2 separate regions of the Homo sapiens genome follow, and region 1 is linked to region 2. Evidence: promoter capture Hi-C in human tissues and cell types (Jung and others, 2019). All regions are on one chromosome and are shown on one strand. Each heading gives the region's core, a stretch centred on a gene start or on the middle of the fragment in contact. The rest is flanking DNA. Distances are from core to core; before and after follow the strand shown. Region 1 has its middle 15 kb from the start of ABR-AS1. Region 2 holds the start of INPP5K (inositol polyphosphate-5-phosphatase K).

Region 1 (7,517 bases), core at 4,090-6,589, 320 kb after region 2:
ATACCAGAATCCCAGGACGCCCAAGTCTCTTATATAAGGTGCTGTAATAGTTACATGTAACCTAATCACGTCTCCCATAGACTTTATTTAAAAAAATTTTTTTTAATGGAGACAGTGTCTTGCTATGTTGCCCAGGCTGGTCTTGAACTCCTGGCTTCAAGCGATCGTCCGAAAGTGTTGGGATTACAGGCGTGAGTCACCATGCCTGCCCCCGACCCCCGTGTACTTTAACTTATCTCTAGGTTATTTTTAATACCTAATACATTGCAAATGCTATGTGGTTGTTATGCTGTATTATTTGTATTTTTTATTTTTGTGGTGTTTTTTTTTAATTGTTTTCCTCCCAAATATTTTTGATCTGTGGTTGGTTGAATCTGAGGGTGCCCTTGGATAGGGATAGTGTGGCTTCCAGCCAGGTAGAGAAGGCCAACTATAAAACTTTGTAAAGAGCTCTATGGTTGCAGCACACCAACATGGCACATGTATACATATGTAACAGACCTGCACGTTGTGCACATGTACCCTAAAATTTAAAGTATAATAAAAAAAAAAAGAAAAAAGAGCTCTATTATATGCATACAAAAAAAGCTGGAAAATGCTAATTGGGGTGGTGTATTTTATGGGTCACATTTTACTCTTTTATTGTCTAAAAGTTTTTAAAATTCTGGCTTTATGACTTATATGACAGAAAAAAAAAACTGAATAAACTTATAGTTTTAAAAAATTGGCCAGGTGCTGTGGCTCACACCTGTAATCCCACCACTTTGGGCAGCTGAGGTGGGTGGATCACCTGAGGTCAGGAGTTCAACTGAGGTCAGCCTGGCCAACATGGTGAAACCCTGTCTCTACTGAAAATGCAAAAATTAGCCGGGCGTGGTGGCGGGCGTCTGTAATCCTAGCTACTTGGGAGGCTGAGGCAGGAGAATTGCTTGAACCCGGGAGGGGGAGGCTGCGGTGAGAGTCCGTCTCTCCCTTCCACCCCCAAAAATATCCCACCAGCTACAGTGAGCTGTGATTGCACCACTGCACTCCAGCTGGGGAACAGAGCAAGATCCTGTTTCAAAAAAACCAGAAAACAAAAACCCCAACAGCCTGTATGTTTTGTACCTTCCGTGTGGCCTCTTGGTGGTCTATGACATGGGTACAGATGAGCCCCTGCCAGTGTGTTAATTGCAGCGTGGCTTCTGAGCCAGCAGCCCGGGTGATCTTCCTAGCCGGGCCCTGGCTCACTGCCTCTGTTTCCCCCAGTCTTCCCTGGCACCTGCAGAGCCAGAGAGAGGTTTTGTTTTCCAGAACCAGGCATTCGTGACCCTGACCACTCCCGAGCAAAGTTTTCACACCTTCCCCGGCCCCCTCAGAGGAATGAAGGTCTGGGAGGAGATAGGGCCTCGTCCTTGGAACCAGGCACCTCTTTTTTTTTTTTTCGAGTCAGAGTCCCGCTCTGTTGCCCAGGCTGGAGTGCAATGGCACCGTCTCGGCTCACTGCAACCTCTGCCTCCCAGGTTCAAACGATTCTTCTACCTCAGCCTCCCAAGTAGCTGGGATTGGCCAGGCGCGGTAGCTCACGCCTGTAATCCCAGCACTTTGGGAGGCTGAGGCGGGCGGATCCCAAGTTCAGGAGATCATAACCATCCTGGCTAACACGGTGAAACCCACCTCTATTAAAAAAAAAAAAATTTGCCAGGTGTGGTGGTGGGCAACTGTAGTCCCAGGTACTGGAGAGGCTGAGGCAGGAGAATGGCGTGAACCCGGGAGGCGGAGCTTGCAGTGAGCCGAGATGGCATCACTACACTCCAGCCTGGGCAACAGAGCGAGACTCCATCTCAAAAACAAAAACAAAAAACCAAGTAGCTGGGATCACAGGTGTACACCGCCACGCCTGGTTAATATTGTATTTTTAGTAGAGATGGGGTTTCACCATGAGGCCAGGCTGGTCTCGAACTCCTGATCTCAGGTGATCCACCCGCCTCAGCCTCCCAAAGTGCTGGGATTATAGGTTTGAGCCACTGTGCCTGGCCGGAACCAGGCAGCTTTGATTGCAGAATCAGGCAGAGGCCAGGTGGGAAGTTGCCGTCTGTTGGTGTCTCAGGCCAAGCTCTCCTTGTCCAGACAGAACCTCTTCCTTTTTGGTCCTGAAAGTCACACTAAAAATCAGCAGCAGCTCGGCCTTGGGCAACGTGCCACGTGTACCGACGTTGGGGTTAGTGGTCTTTGCAGGAAGTCGAGGTTGTTTGTGGGCCTGGAAGGAAATGTGGCCTGCCTGCATGTACAGCCTCATGTGTGGCCTCTGGGAGGGGGAGCAGACAGAACCCGCAGCCCCAGAGACTGGGAGGCTTCTCTGTGGCAGCTTCCTCATTTCTGGTTAGTTGTGGCAGGGGGCAGATACAGTCTCTTTTGCAAAAGCAGCTCCTTTATGTCCAGAAGGCGACAGCTCAGCTCTCCTTTAGGGCCCCCAAAGAACTAACCCACAGCGTGGGGCTGCGGCCAGCCGGGCGCAGCAGCAGCGGCAGTGTTCCTGTCTCAGCTGCCTGCAGCATGGCTTTGATCTGACAGTCAGCAGGGTGTATTTGCCCCCAAAGCCAGTGGTCTGAGGAGCCCAGCTCCAGTTAGGTCTTAGGTGGGGACACCATAGATACTGCTCTCTGGGGAAAACCAAGTCACGGTCTGGTTTGGGTGAGCGCTGATCTTCCCTCCAGTGTGATCCCAAGCTCCCTGGGATGTTGGCTATAGGGAGCAATCAGGAGCCACTCCCCAAGACTCAGGGGACCAGCCTGGGGTCCAGGAAAGAAGACTTCCCAGCACCCTCCCCCTCTCTGCTGGTGGTCTGGCACTCCCCTCATGTGACAGGCATGTGGCTTTTGGGAGGAAAGAATCTTTCACAATCAGACAGAAACAGCAACTGGGAAAATAACTCATGCAGGGGTTTGGGCAATGAGTGTCTAGAAGGCTGTGGGCCACGAGAAGGGGATTAGGGTGAGGTTTCATCAGAGCTGTGGCTAAGATCCGAGGAGGCTCCTAGAGCTCAAGGCTTCAGAATGACCGGTCAGGAGCCAGAGGGATGGTGTCTTTCTCTCTCCAACCTCTCAGACCAAAAATGGGGCATGGGGCTGACCCTGCCCAATTTTTTTCAAACCCGCAGAGACAGAGGTTTGAAATCATTCACTCCAGCATTAAGTGGAGGTGGCTCCAGCTCAGAGCCTCCAGCCAAACCCTCCCTGCGCCACAGCAGGAGATCACGGCCTGTTTCCCAGAGGCTCTGAAATAGGAGTGACTCTCCTTAAAGTGCTCCTTGCAATGCTCATCCGAGCCTGGGCCAGGCAGGGCTGGGGGCTGCCTTGAAGAAAGAGATGCCCCCGAGATCCGATACCCTCTGGAGCGTTGCAGGATGCGTCTGTCCAGGAGGCACTGCAGGGGAGCCGGGGTTCCCGGAGCATTTGGGAAGGTTTCTGAGCAGCACAGGGTCCTTCCTTAGGAAGGCGGATCTTGGCCGGGTGCGGTGGCTCACGCCTGTCATCCCAGCACTTTGGGAGGCCGAGGCGGATGGATCACGAGGTCAGGAGATTGAGACCATCCTGGCTAACACGGTGAAACCCCATCTCTACTAAAAATACAAAAAATTAGCCGGGCACGGTGGTGGGCGCCTGTAGTCCCAGCTACTCGGGAGGCTGAGGCAGGAGAATGGCATGAACCCGGGAGGCGGAGCTTGCGGTGAGCCAGGATCGCGCCACTGCACTCCAGCCTGGGCGACAGAGCAAGACTCCGTCTCAAAAAAAAAAAAAAAAGGAAGGTTGGATCTCCTGTAGCTTCCTGTGGTGCCGTCTTCTCCCAGGGACTCGAGCCTTGTTCAGAGCACTGACAGGATTTTTCAGAAAGTTCTGTGTGTGTGGCTGCTCTTTGGTAAGCCCAGGGCAACAGAGTCATCAACATTTAGGGAGGGGGTGGGTGAGGCAGGATGTAGAGTTAATACCCAGTTTTGTCCTATGTTCCTCTGAGAAGTTAGCTAAGAAATCTTTTCTAAATTAAATTTAATTAATTAATTTGTTTTTTGGGCCAGAGTTTTCACTCTTGTCACCCAGGCTGGAGTGCAGTGGTGTGATGTCAGCTCACTGTGACCTCCACCTCCTGGGTTCAAGTGATTCTCCTGCCTCAGCCTCCCGAGTAGCTGGGATTACAGGCACGTGCCACCATGCCCAGCTAATTTTTGTATTTGTAGTAGAAAGAGGGTTTCGCCATGTTGGCCAGGCTGGTCTTGAACTCCTGACCTCAGGTGATCCGCCTGCCTCGGCCTCCCAAAGTGCCGGGATTATAGGCGTGAGCCACCGCACCTTGCCTATTTTTTTTTTTTTTTTTGAGACAGAATCTCGCTCTGTTGCTCAGGCTGGAGTGCAGTGTCGTGATCTCGGCTCACTGCAACCTTCTCCTTCTTGGTTCAAGCGATCCTCGTGCCTCAGCCACCTGAGTACCTGGGATTACAGGCACCTGCTACCATGCCTGGCTAATTTTTGTATTTTTAGTAGAGATGGGGTTTTGCCATGTTGCCCAGGCTCGTCTCGCACTCCTGACCTCAAGTGATCCCTGACCTCAAGTGATCTCTCCCCACAATCCCAACTTGCCTTCCCAAAGTTCTGGGATTACAGGCGTGAGCCACCGCGCCGGCCAATAATTTTTTTTTTTTGAGACAGAGTCTCGCTCTGTTGCGCAGGCTGGAGTGCAGTGACACGATCTCGGCTCACTGCAACCTTTGCCTCCCGGGTTCACACCATTCTCCTGCCTCAGCCTCCTGTGTAGCTGGGACTACAGGCGCCCACCACCACGCCCGGCTAATTTGTTGTATTTTTAGTAGAGACGGGGTTTCACCGTGTTAGCCAGGATGGTCTCGATCTCCTGACCTCGTGATCCACCCGCCTCGGCCTCCCACAGTGCTGGGATGACAGGCGTGAGCCACTGCCCAGCCAATAATTTTCTTTAAAATGCTCCTTACGCTACTTGCTGAGCCTGGGTCAGGCAGGGCTGGGGGCTGCCTTTGGGAGAGAGATACACCAGAGACTAGTTAATCACTGTAGCAGTAGAAAACACCCTTAAGGGCCGGGCCTGATGGCTCACGCCTGTAATCCCAGCACTTGGAGAGGCCAAGGTGGGAGGATCCTTTGAGGCCAGGACTTTTTTTTTTTTTTGAGACAGTCTCATTCTGTCGCCCAGGCTGGAGTGCTGTGGCGCGATCTCCGCTCACTGCAAGCTCCGCCTTCCGGGTTCACGCCATTCTCCTGCCTCAGCCTCCCGAGTAGCTGGGACTACAGGCGCCCGCCACTGCGCCCGGCTAATTTTTTGTATTTTTAGTAGAGACGGGGTTTCACCGTGTTAGCCAGGATGGTCTCGATCTCCTGACCTCGTGATCCGCCCGCCTCGGCCTCCCAAAGTGCTGGGATTACAGGCGTGAGCCACCGCGCCTGGCCTGAGGCCAGGACTTCAAGAGCAGCCTGGGCAACATAGTGAGGTTCTGTCTGTACAAAATTAAAAAAAAAATTAGGGTCGGGCGCGGTGGCTCACACCTGTAATTCCAGCACTTTAGGAGGCCGAGGTGGGTGAATCACCTGAGTCAGGAGTTCGAGACCAGTCTGGCCAACATGGCGAAACCCTGTCTCTACTAAAAATACAAAATTTTTAGGGCATGGTGGCACATGCCTGTAATCCCAGCTACTAGGGGGGCTGAGGCAGGAGGATTGCTTGAACCCGGGAGGTGGAGGTTGCAGTGAGCTGAGACCGCACCACTGCACTCCAGCCTGGGCAACAGAGCGAGACTCCATCTTAAAAAAAAAAAAATTAGCTGGGTGTGGTGGTGCATGCCTGTAGTCCTAGCTATGCAAGAAGTTGAGGCAGGGGGATGGCTTGAGCCTGGGAGGTCGAGACTGTAGTGAGCTATGATTGCACCACTACACTCCAGTCTGGGCGATAGAGTGAGACTTGTCTCTAAAAAATAAAGAAGGCTGGGCGAAGTGTCTCACACCTGTAATCCCAGCACTTTGGGAAGACGAGGCAGGCAGATCACCTGAGGTCAGGAGTTGAGACCAGCATGGCCAACATGGTGAAACCCCTCTCTACTAAAAATACAAAACAAAACAAAAAAATAGCTGGGCGTGGTGGCGTGTACCTGTAATCTTAGCTACTTGGGAGGCTGAGGCAAGAGAATTACTTGAACCCGGGAGGCGGAGGTTGCAGTGAGCCAAGATCGTGCCATTGCACTCCAGCCTGGGCGACAGAGAGAGACTCTGTCTCAATCAATCAATCAAAATATAAATAAATAAAAAAAAACAAAGGAAACACCCTTGCCACCAGAGATCCTCCAGGTACAAACCTCATGTTCAAGGAGAAATCAAAAGACCCAGGAGCTTGTCAGATTTCAGTAGAGGAGAAAGAGGATGGAAATTCATCTTTGTGTCTTCCTTCCTCTGCCACTTCCCCTGGAGAGTAAGCTTTAAGAGCTGCAGTGGCCAGGCGCGGGGCTCACGCCTGTTATCCCAGCACTTTGAGAGGCCAAGGTGGGCAGATCACGAGGTCAGGAGATCAAAACCATCCTGGCTAACACGGTGAAACCCCGTCTCTATTAAAAATACAAAAAAAAAATTAGCTGGGCGTGGTGGCGGGTGCCTGTAGTCCCAGTTATTCAGGAGGCTGAGGCAGGTGAATCGCTTCAACCTGGGAGGCGGAGGATGCAGTGAGCCGAGATTGTGCCACTGCACTCCACACTCCAGCCTGGGGGACAGAGGGAGACTCTATCTCAAACATAAAAACACACAAACAAAAAGGGCTGCACTGATGTGCTTGAATTAGCGTCAGTTGCCAGTACTCCCTGGCGTGCTGGAAACCGAGCTCTTCCTGAGTGAATGTCGGGCGGCATCTGGTCAGGATGCTTTCCTGAAGCTTCAGGACTGGTGGCCAGGTACAATTGCTCTGGACCGAGCCAGACCCGAGTGAGAACTTGGCTCTGTCACTCACTAGCAGTGTGAACTTGAGCCTCTTCTGTAAAGCGGGCGTGGTGACTGTGGCTTCCACATAGAGAGGCTGCTTGCGAAGAGTGAAGGTTACGTGCTTAACAGGGTGCCTAGAACGTAAATACTGGCGATGCTCGGGACACGTCGGCCGAAGGGCGTTCAGCAAACTCGCCGGGAGAGCGGGGGAGTCCTGAATCCTTGTGGGTATTGAGGGGGAGGGGGTGTCCCAGAAAGGCTTCTCTATAAGGTGGATCTAAGAAAAGCTGCTAATTCTGTTGTTTTCCTGAATTCATGCTGAGGCCACACGTTAGATTAGTAGCAGTTTCTATATTCGCCCCCAGTTCCCAAAAGAACCTTCTCCACAGTCATCCATTCTAGCTCTTCGCTCCATTTCCACGTCTGCCTCTGTGCAAGTTTTTGTTTTGTTTTGTTTTTTGTTTTGAGATAGAGTTTCGCTCTTTTTGCTCAGGCTGGAGTGCAATGGCGCAATCTCGGCTCACTACAGCCTCCGCCTCCTGGGTTCAAGGG
Region 2 (6,915 bases), core at 992-3,491:
AGAAGAGGCATTCCTACTGGAGAAAAATGTCAGTGTTTTCCTATAAGCTCTGTGTTAGCTATTCATTATATTTGTGCTTAAAGATGTTCCTTCATTCATCAACTAGGGGAAGTCCAGATGCGGGTTATCTTGAAAGAAACAAACTGACATTCTAGGCAGACAGTTGTCTATGTGGTCTGAGGGTCAGCAGCTGTTAGTCTCCTTCCTTTGGCTCTTGAGACCCACACATATCACTTTAGCCCTAACAAGGGCTCCTCCCACCTCCACCTGTTGCCCCAGTTGAAAAGCATCCATTATGAGCTGAGGTCAGCCTGGATCTGGAATTGCAGCCCACATAAACATAAAGGAGGATGTCCCTGGTCTGTTCCATCCCCACGGATGGTGTTGCTGCTGGGCAACAGTGTTGGCTTCTTTTAAGTACCCCCTTTCCTCCTCACCCACCTCCAAACTGACTAGCACTCAGAGGGACTTATGATAAAGGTTCAGCTCCAGGGGTAGTACCTGAGTGTGTGCCATGCCCCTTCAGACCAGCTGCTTCCATCAGAATTCCAGGGTCACAGCCCCAACAGAAGCAGCAGTGCCTCTGTAGGAGGGGTGCTGGGCTCTGGCCTTCTCATGCAGAGAGGTCCGGGACAGGGTCAGTATCGTGGGCATGTGTATAGCTTCCCAAGTTCTTTTACAGTCCCTGCTGGGACTCCCTGACTTACTTTGGTTGGTTCCTAGTGCTACTTGTTTTACAAACTACACTTTGTAGAATTGATTAGATTACCTTGTTTATTTAATGTGAGTTTGTGCCTTTTTGTCTCAATCTTCCAATACAGGTATATTGAGAAAAAAAGCAGTCTAATAAAATCCTAGACAGAACTTTCTGGAGTCCAGTTTGGTGATGTCCATTTTCCAGCTGTATGTATCCTCAAACTTGCACTGATAACCGCCATTTTACCAGGGCAGGATTAGGAAGAGGTACAAAGGTGTGTCTGAAAATTTTTGCACGTGGATTTCTGCATATAATAGTCCCGTGTCAGTTTACTTATGCAAACATTGCACATCTGAATTGTAATTCGGCCGTTTCCTACTGACAGGATGTCCTTTTGCTTTTGTCTGCCTCCTCTTCACATCTTCCTCTTTATCCACCCTACCAAACAAGCAAAACATTTATTTAAAGTAGTTTTAGGCCGGGCGCGGTGGCTCACACCTGAAATCGCAGCACTCTGGGAGGCCGAGGCGGGTGGATCAGCTGAGGTCAGGAGTTCGAGACCAGCCTGACCAACATGGCGAAACCCCATCTCGGCTAATTATTATTATTATTTTTTTTTTTTGAAACGAAGTCTCGCTCTGTCGCGCAGGCTGGGGTGCAGTGGCGCAATCTCGGCTCACTGCAACCTCCACCTCCCGGGTTCAGGCGATTCTCCTGCCTCAGCCTCCCGAGTAGCTGGGATTAACAGGCGCGCGCTATCAAGCCCAGCTAGCTTTTGTGTTTTTAGCAGAGACGGGGTTTCACCATGTTAAGGCCAGGCTGGTCTTAAACTCCTGACCTCAAGTGAGCCGCCCGCCTCGGCCTCCCAAAGTGCTGGGATTACAGGCATTGAGCCACCGCGCCCCGGCCTACGTTTCATTTATTGACGGCTAATTCTGTAGGAGTCCAGGAATCCCCAAACGTCCCATATGCAATAGGTAATCCAATAAGTTTGGAGTAGAAGCCTGAAAGTGGGCGTGGAGAACGGAGGCGCTCCCGCAGTAGCAGGAATGGGGAGATTACCTGCAGCCGGGGGGCGGGGGAGACCGGATCCCAGGCAGGACAGTGGCTAGGCTGCGTGTCCCCACCCCCGACCCTCGTTTGACCCCTGGGAGCCGGGGCGAAGACAGCACAAGGACGGAGCCCTCGGATCCCTCACGAGTGGGGCAGAGGCTGCGGCGGCGGCGAAGAGACAACTTCCGCCGGAAGACGGCCCCTGGCGCGGGGCACGCTGGGAGCTGCGGACGGCGGGCGCGGGCTGGGCCGGGTCTAGTGGCGGCCGCACACCTCGCGTCGTCTGGGGCAGTGTTGCGCGTGCGCTGATGACAGGCCCGACACGCCCCTCTTACGTCCGCGAACCCGTCTTCGCTCAGCCTCTCGCAGCTTTGCGCTCGTGGGAGAGTCCCGCCTCCTTCTGCGAACCGCACCACCCAGATCCCGGGGTGCGCGGAGGGCGCGTCTCTGACGGAAGCCGGGGCGGACGGTCGGAGTCCGGAAGAAAAACAGTCCGCGACAGCTAGGCGCGTGAGACCGGCCGCCCGCAGGGCTGCTCTGGCCGGGACCCGCTGGCCGGGAGACGCGAACCTGCCGGACCACCGCGCGGGGACGACGGCGGCCATGAGCTCGCGGAAGCTGAGCGGGCCGAAAGGCAGGAGGCTCAGGTGAGGGCACCCTGGCGGCAGAGGCAGGCCTGCTCGGGGGGATCGGCGCCCCTTGGGCTGCGGGCTGGGGGTGGACAAGGCACCAGACCTCCATGACTGCCTTTGGTTCAGAGGCGCTCTCGCCTTCTCCCACGCCTGTGTCAGGTGGGCTGTGTTGGGCCCGAGCCTCGCGCCCCCTCTAAGCCGAGGCCGCCAAGCTCGTTCCCACTGGGGCGCAGCAGGTGTCCCGGTTGCTTTCTGGAGAGGACAGCCGTGTGGGGTTGTTTGAGGTTAAAGACATAACGAGGCCGTCACCCTTCGGCTCTCGGTTAGAAATCTTTTTCCTACTTTTCATCAGCACATACATCAGGAGGTCTGCCTGATCCCATGGTGAACCCCGGGAATCCGAAATCAGATTGAGATAAGATCCTTTAGGGAAGTGACTTAGCCTGGTCTCTTGCCTGCTCTTTCACGGGGAACAACGCTAATCGCCCACTTAGTCTAAGTCACGATGCTTGGATTTGCTGCTAATCGTCGGATTTGAGAGTGGGAACAAGAAATCCGGACTTTTGCTCTCCATCCTCTTAGAGTGAGTCTGGGAAAAGAAGTCTCTGAGTAAAAGGTCTTTGTTCCTTAAGCCTCTGTCGGACAGCAGGGGGAGATCGTAAACAAATGAAGCTCAAAATCTCAGGCCGAGTGCCTGGGAAGGTGGTTTCTGTATAGTGTTGTTTATGCTAACAGGGAGGGACAGGAAGTTGCTTTAAACTGGCCAAGAATTTCTTGAAGTGCTTTTGAGAACGTCGACCTCTAAGGACGGGGTCTGTTGGAGGAGAGATGTTTTGGCATTAACTGCCCTTTTCTCCCATCCCCCTGTACCCTCTGCCATTCCAGATCTCCAGCTGCTGCAGGTACTCCTCATCGTGTGCCTAGGACTCATGCTAGGCTGTTCCTGGTCTCTGCAGGGTCTGTAGCTCCTGCCCGCTCTGTGCTCCGCACAGTCTGAGGCTTCTTGAAGAGCTGCTGTGACTGACTGTTCCACTAAAGACATCTGTAGGTCTCTCTTTCCTGAGCCTCTGACTGGATCCAGTGTCATTGAGGCCCCTTATCTAGTTTTCTTGCTTCCCTAAGACTTGTAAGCTGAGGTGGAAAATATCCAACTGATGACTTTTCCCCAGAGAGTACTCTTTATTTTTCACGGAATACTACGCAGACATAGAGCATAGACTCTTAAGAGAGATGTCGAGAAACCTGTTACTTAAAAACTCCTTGGCCGGGCGCGGTGGCTCAGGCCTGTAATCCCAGCACTTTGGGAGGCTGAGGCGGGCGGATCACCTGAGAGATCAGGAGTTCAGGACCAGCCTGGCCAACATGGTGAAACCCCGTCTCTACTAAAAATACAAAAGTTAGCCAGATGTGGTGGCACACACCTGTAATCCCAGCTACTTGGGAGGTTGAGGCAGGAGAACTGCTGGAACCTGGGAGGCGGAGGCTGCGATGAGCCGAGATCATCCCAGTCCACTCCAGCCTGGGCAACAGAGTGAGACTCAGTCTCAAAAAAAAAAAAAAAAAAAGTCTCGCTGAAGTGCTTGGCAAAATTGGCTTGCTCCAGGGATCTGCTAGGGAGGAGAGAGGAAGGGAATATGGTGGTGTTATCTCTTTTATTTTTTAAATTCCTCTGCCCTTGTAGTGCTGAGGCCTATCACAAGGTGAAATCTGAATCCCTAGGATCTTCCTGGTGGTCTTAGGAACACTTGGGGTGAGAAGTAGGGATCAGAAGTTGCCGACTGAGCCATAGATGATGACAGAGGGGTGTGGGTGGCTGGAGGAGCTGATGGAATTAATACATTCCTGGCAGTTCAGCCCCCTAACCCTTCGCTAGCCTGACCTGAAATTCTTGGGCTCCCTTTGGCGACTCTGCTATATCAGCAGCACCAGTGCTGCCGGGTGTGGGTGGCTGTGAGCCAGCATGGAGGACCCAGTCCGGGGTGGGGATTTCTTGCTTCAGCAGAGAAAGGTGAGGACGGACAGCTGATGGTTCAGTATCCCCATTCCCTCCACCAGCACAGAAACCCACATTTCCCATCATGAGTGTGGCAGATTGCAGTGACATAAGCAGGCCTAGACCCCGTGCACTATCTTTTTTTTTTTTCTTTTGAGACAGAGTCTCACTCTGTCACCCAGGCTGGAGTGCAGTGGCACAATGTCGGCTCACTGCAACCTCTGCCTCGTGGGTTCAAGCAATTCTCCTGCCTCAGCCTCCAGAGTAGCTGGGATTACAGGCGCCTGCCACCATGCTGGGCTAATTTTTGTACTTTTAGTAGAGACGGGGTTTCACCATGTTGGCCAGGCTTGTCTCGAACTCCCGACCTCAGGTGATCCGCCCACCTCGGCCGCCCAAAGTGCTGTGATGACAACGTGTGAGCCTCTGCGCCCAGCCGACCCCGTGCACTATCTTATCCTCCTTCCTCCATGACTTCCCTCTGCATCCCTTCCGCAGCATACACGTCGTGACTTGGAACGTGGCTTCGGCAGCGCCCCCTCTAGATCTCAGTGACCTGCTTCAGCTGAACAACCGGAACCTCAATCTTGACATATATGTTATTGGGTAGGTATCTGCAGGCTCCTTCGCCCATCCCTGACCAGTCCCAGGTTTCCCTGTGGGAAGCACTGTGACCTGCCCTCCTCCGCTCTGGAGTCTGAAGGCTGGGAGCTTTCAGCCTGCTTCAGGGACAGTCCCATGTCTCTGGTCCCGGGTCAGCAACGGCAAAGGGGGCTGGAGATCAGCAGGCAGGGGAGGGAGACCTCATGGCCATCAGAACTCAGGCCTTGAAAGTCCGTGAAGATGGTATCAAATATCTGTGGCAGGGGAAGTAGCCTGGAGGCCAGGGGCCAAGCCTCTGAGCTGGCATGGTCAGTTTGCAGGAATTGAACTCTGGGATCATAAGCCTCCTTTCCGATGCTGCCTTTAATGACTCGTGGAGCAGTTTCCTCATGGATGTGCTTTCCCCTCTGAGCTTCATCAAGGTAACTTGCCAGTTCATTGGCACTTGACAACTGTGTTTTCACATCTCCACTGACCCCTGCTTGTTGGGTCTGATGTGTTCCTCTTACTCCTGCTCAGCCTTTCATGCTGTTTCCCATTTGTTTAAAGGGCTAAACCTCCCTTCCACCTGGACCCCGGGGCCCCTGCCTGCCTTCGCCTTTCTGAGGGAGCTGGAGTCTCCAGGGGTTGGGTTAACACCTGGATATGTTTCAGCTTGGGAAGATTCTGAGGGGAGGTGCAGCAGGGCTTGTCATCACCTCAGTGCTGGCCGCTGCCCCAGCCACCAGTCTCTACTCAAATGCCCATCCTGAAGTCTCTGAGTGTAATCATACGGCTGTCATTTATCAAGTGCTTACTTGTTGTTACACATCATAAGTAGCTCTTTATAGTATATATGTTATTTTAAAATCTTAACAAGTCTGTTGAAATAGAGATATTTTACAGAGAAAACCATGGCTCAGAAGCCACATGCGCTATCTGGGATTTGGATCCAGATCTCTCAAACTTCATAACCCAAGTTCTTAACTACTAATACCTTATTGCTATGCTGGTGAACTCTAAGACTGACAGATCTTAGGCGTGGCTAGCCTGCTGGTGTCATAGGGTATCCTCAGGTCATACGGGACGTGCACTTCAGATTCTGGGGGTCCAGAGGTTAGGAGAGGGGAGTCAGGTGTGGTGGGTACTTTGGGCGGCTTTCTTAGTCTGAGAGACCAGTATACTCTGGGGTGTCTTTAGACAGTAGGAGAGTCCACAGGAAGGCCCTGGGTTGCCAGATCTTCACCTTCACCTTGGTTCTGCCCTGCACACCTGAGGAATGAAACACACTCCCATTCACAGCACCTGGTATACAGCTGCTTAGAAATACCAGAATTCCCTCTTTCCCCTTCCTGGATGACTCTTGTTCTTCAGAATGGATTCTGTCAGCCTAGTTTGCCTGGGGGTACTGAGGCAAGAGCTGTGTGTCCTTTGGAGGGGGAGCAGAATGGGGAGGAAAGAATCTAAGGTTTAGAACTCCTGCTGAGGATAGAAAACACCAGCCCGAGTCCTTGGTTCCCTCCACATCAAACCCAGAGGCCTCCTTCTGTAGATAGGGAGCTAGATCCTTACAGAGGACACAACCACTTCTCTCTCACCCGCCACTCCCTTCCCAAGACTGCAGGCCTCCTTGCTTCTCGGCTGACTGGCAAAGGATTGGTAGGATGGAATTGAGCCAAGGAAATTAGCTCAACTTGTGGCAGAGACACAGCCCTTTCTACCCATGTGGCCTACTGAGATTGGGAGGCCAGACTGAGGGCCTGGCACCCAAAATGAATGCCCTTCTTTCCCCAGCCAAGAATCAGGGTGGATGGGTGAGCTCCGTGCATTTGCCAGCTATAGACTGAGAAGGGCTGACCCCCTTCCACTGCTCCAGGGCCCCCAGCCACCTCCTGCTAGTCCTTTCTTCGCTCCTCCTACTTCATTTCCTCCAACTAGAACTTTCCCTAGAACTCTCC

Evidence for each region. Contacts are between HindIII fragments. The study calls those that stand out against the background at their distance.
Region 1: a contact is called between a fragment that was not itself captured here and the fragment with the promoter of INPP5K in region 2, in 3 of the 25 tissues and cell types used here (dorsolateral prefrontal cortex, spleen and thymus).

What each region holds. Positions count from the first base shown.
Region 1 is chr17:1,192,962-1,200,478 of GRCh38, reverse strand. It overlaps a transcript of ABR not described here. Among named protein-coding and RNA genes, the nearest start is that of ABR-AS1, 15 kb to the right of the region's middle. RefSeq lists enhancers at 823-872, 1,989-2,128, 2,239-2,418, 2,449-2,498 and a silencer at 1,993-2,193. The HindIII fragment of the contact is 6,525 bases long and covers 2,077-7,517 here.
Region 2 is chr17:1,511,938-1,518,852 of GRCh38, reverse strand. INPP5K (inositol polyphosphate-5-phosphatase K) reads left to right here and starts at 2,241. Exons shown (of 12, transcript NM_016532.4): 1 at 2,241-2,397; 2 at 4,874-4,981; 3 at 5,292-5,400. The coding sequence starts at 2,354. PITPNA (phosphatidylinositol transfer protein alpha) reads left to right here. Exons shown (of 12, transcript NM_006224.4): 12 at 1-1,135. PITPNA-AS1 (PITPNA antisense RNA 1) reads right to left here and starts at 1,934. Exons shown (of 2, transcript NR_028514.1): 1 at 1,760-1,934; 2 at 757-1,135. RefSeq lists a silencer at 1,856-2,155. The HindIII fragment of the contact is 13,245 bases long and covers 1-6,915 here.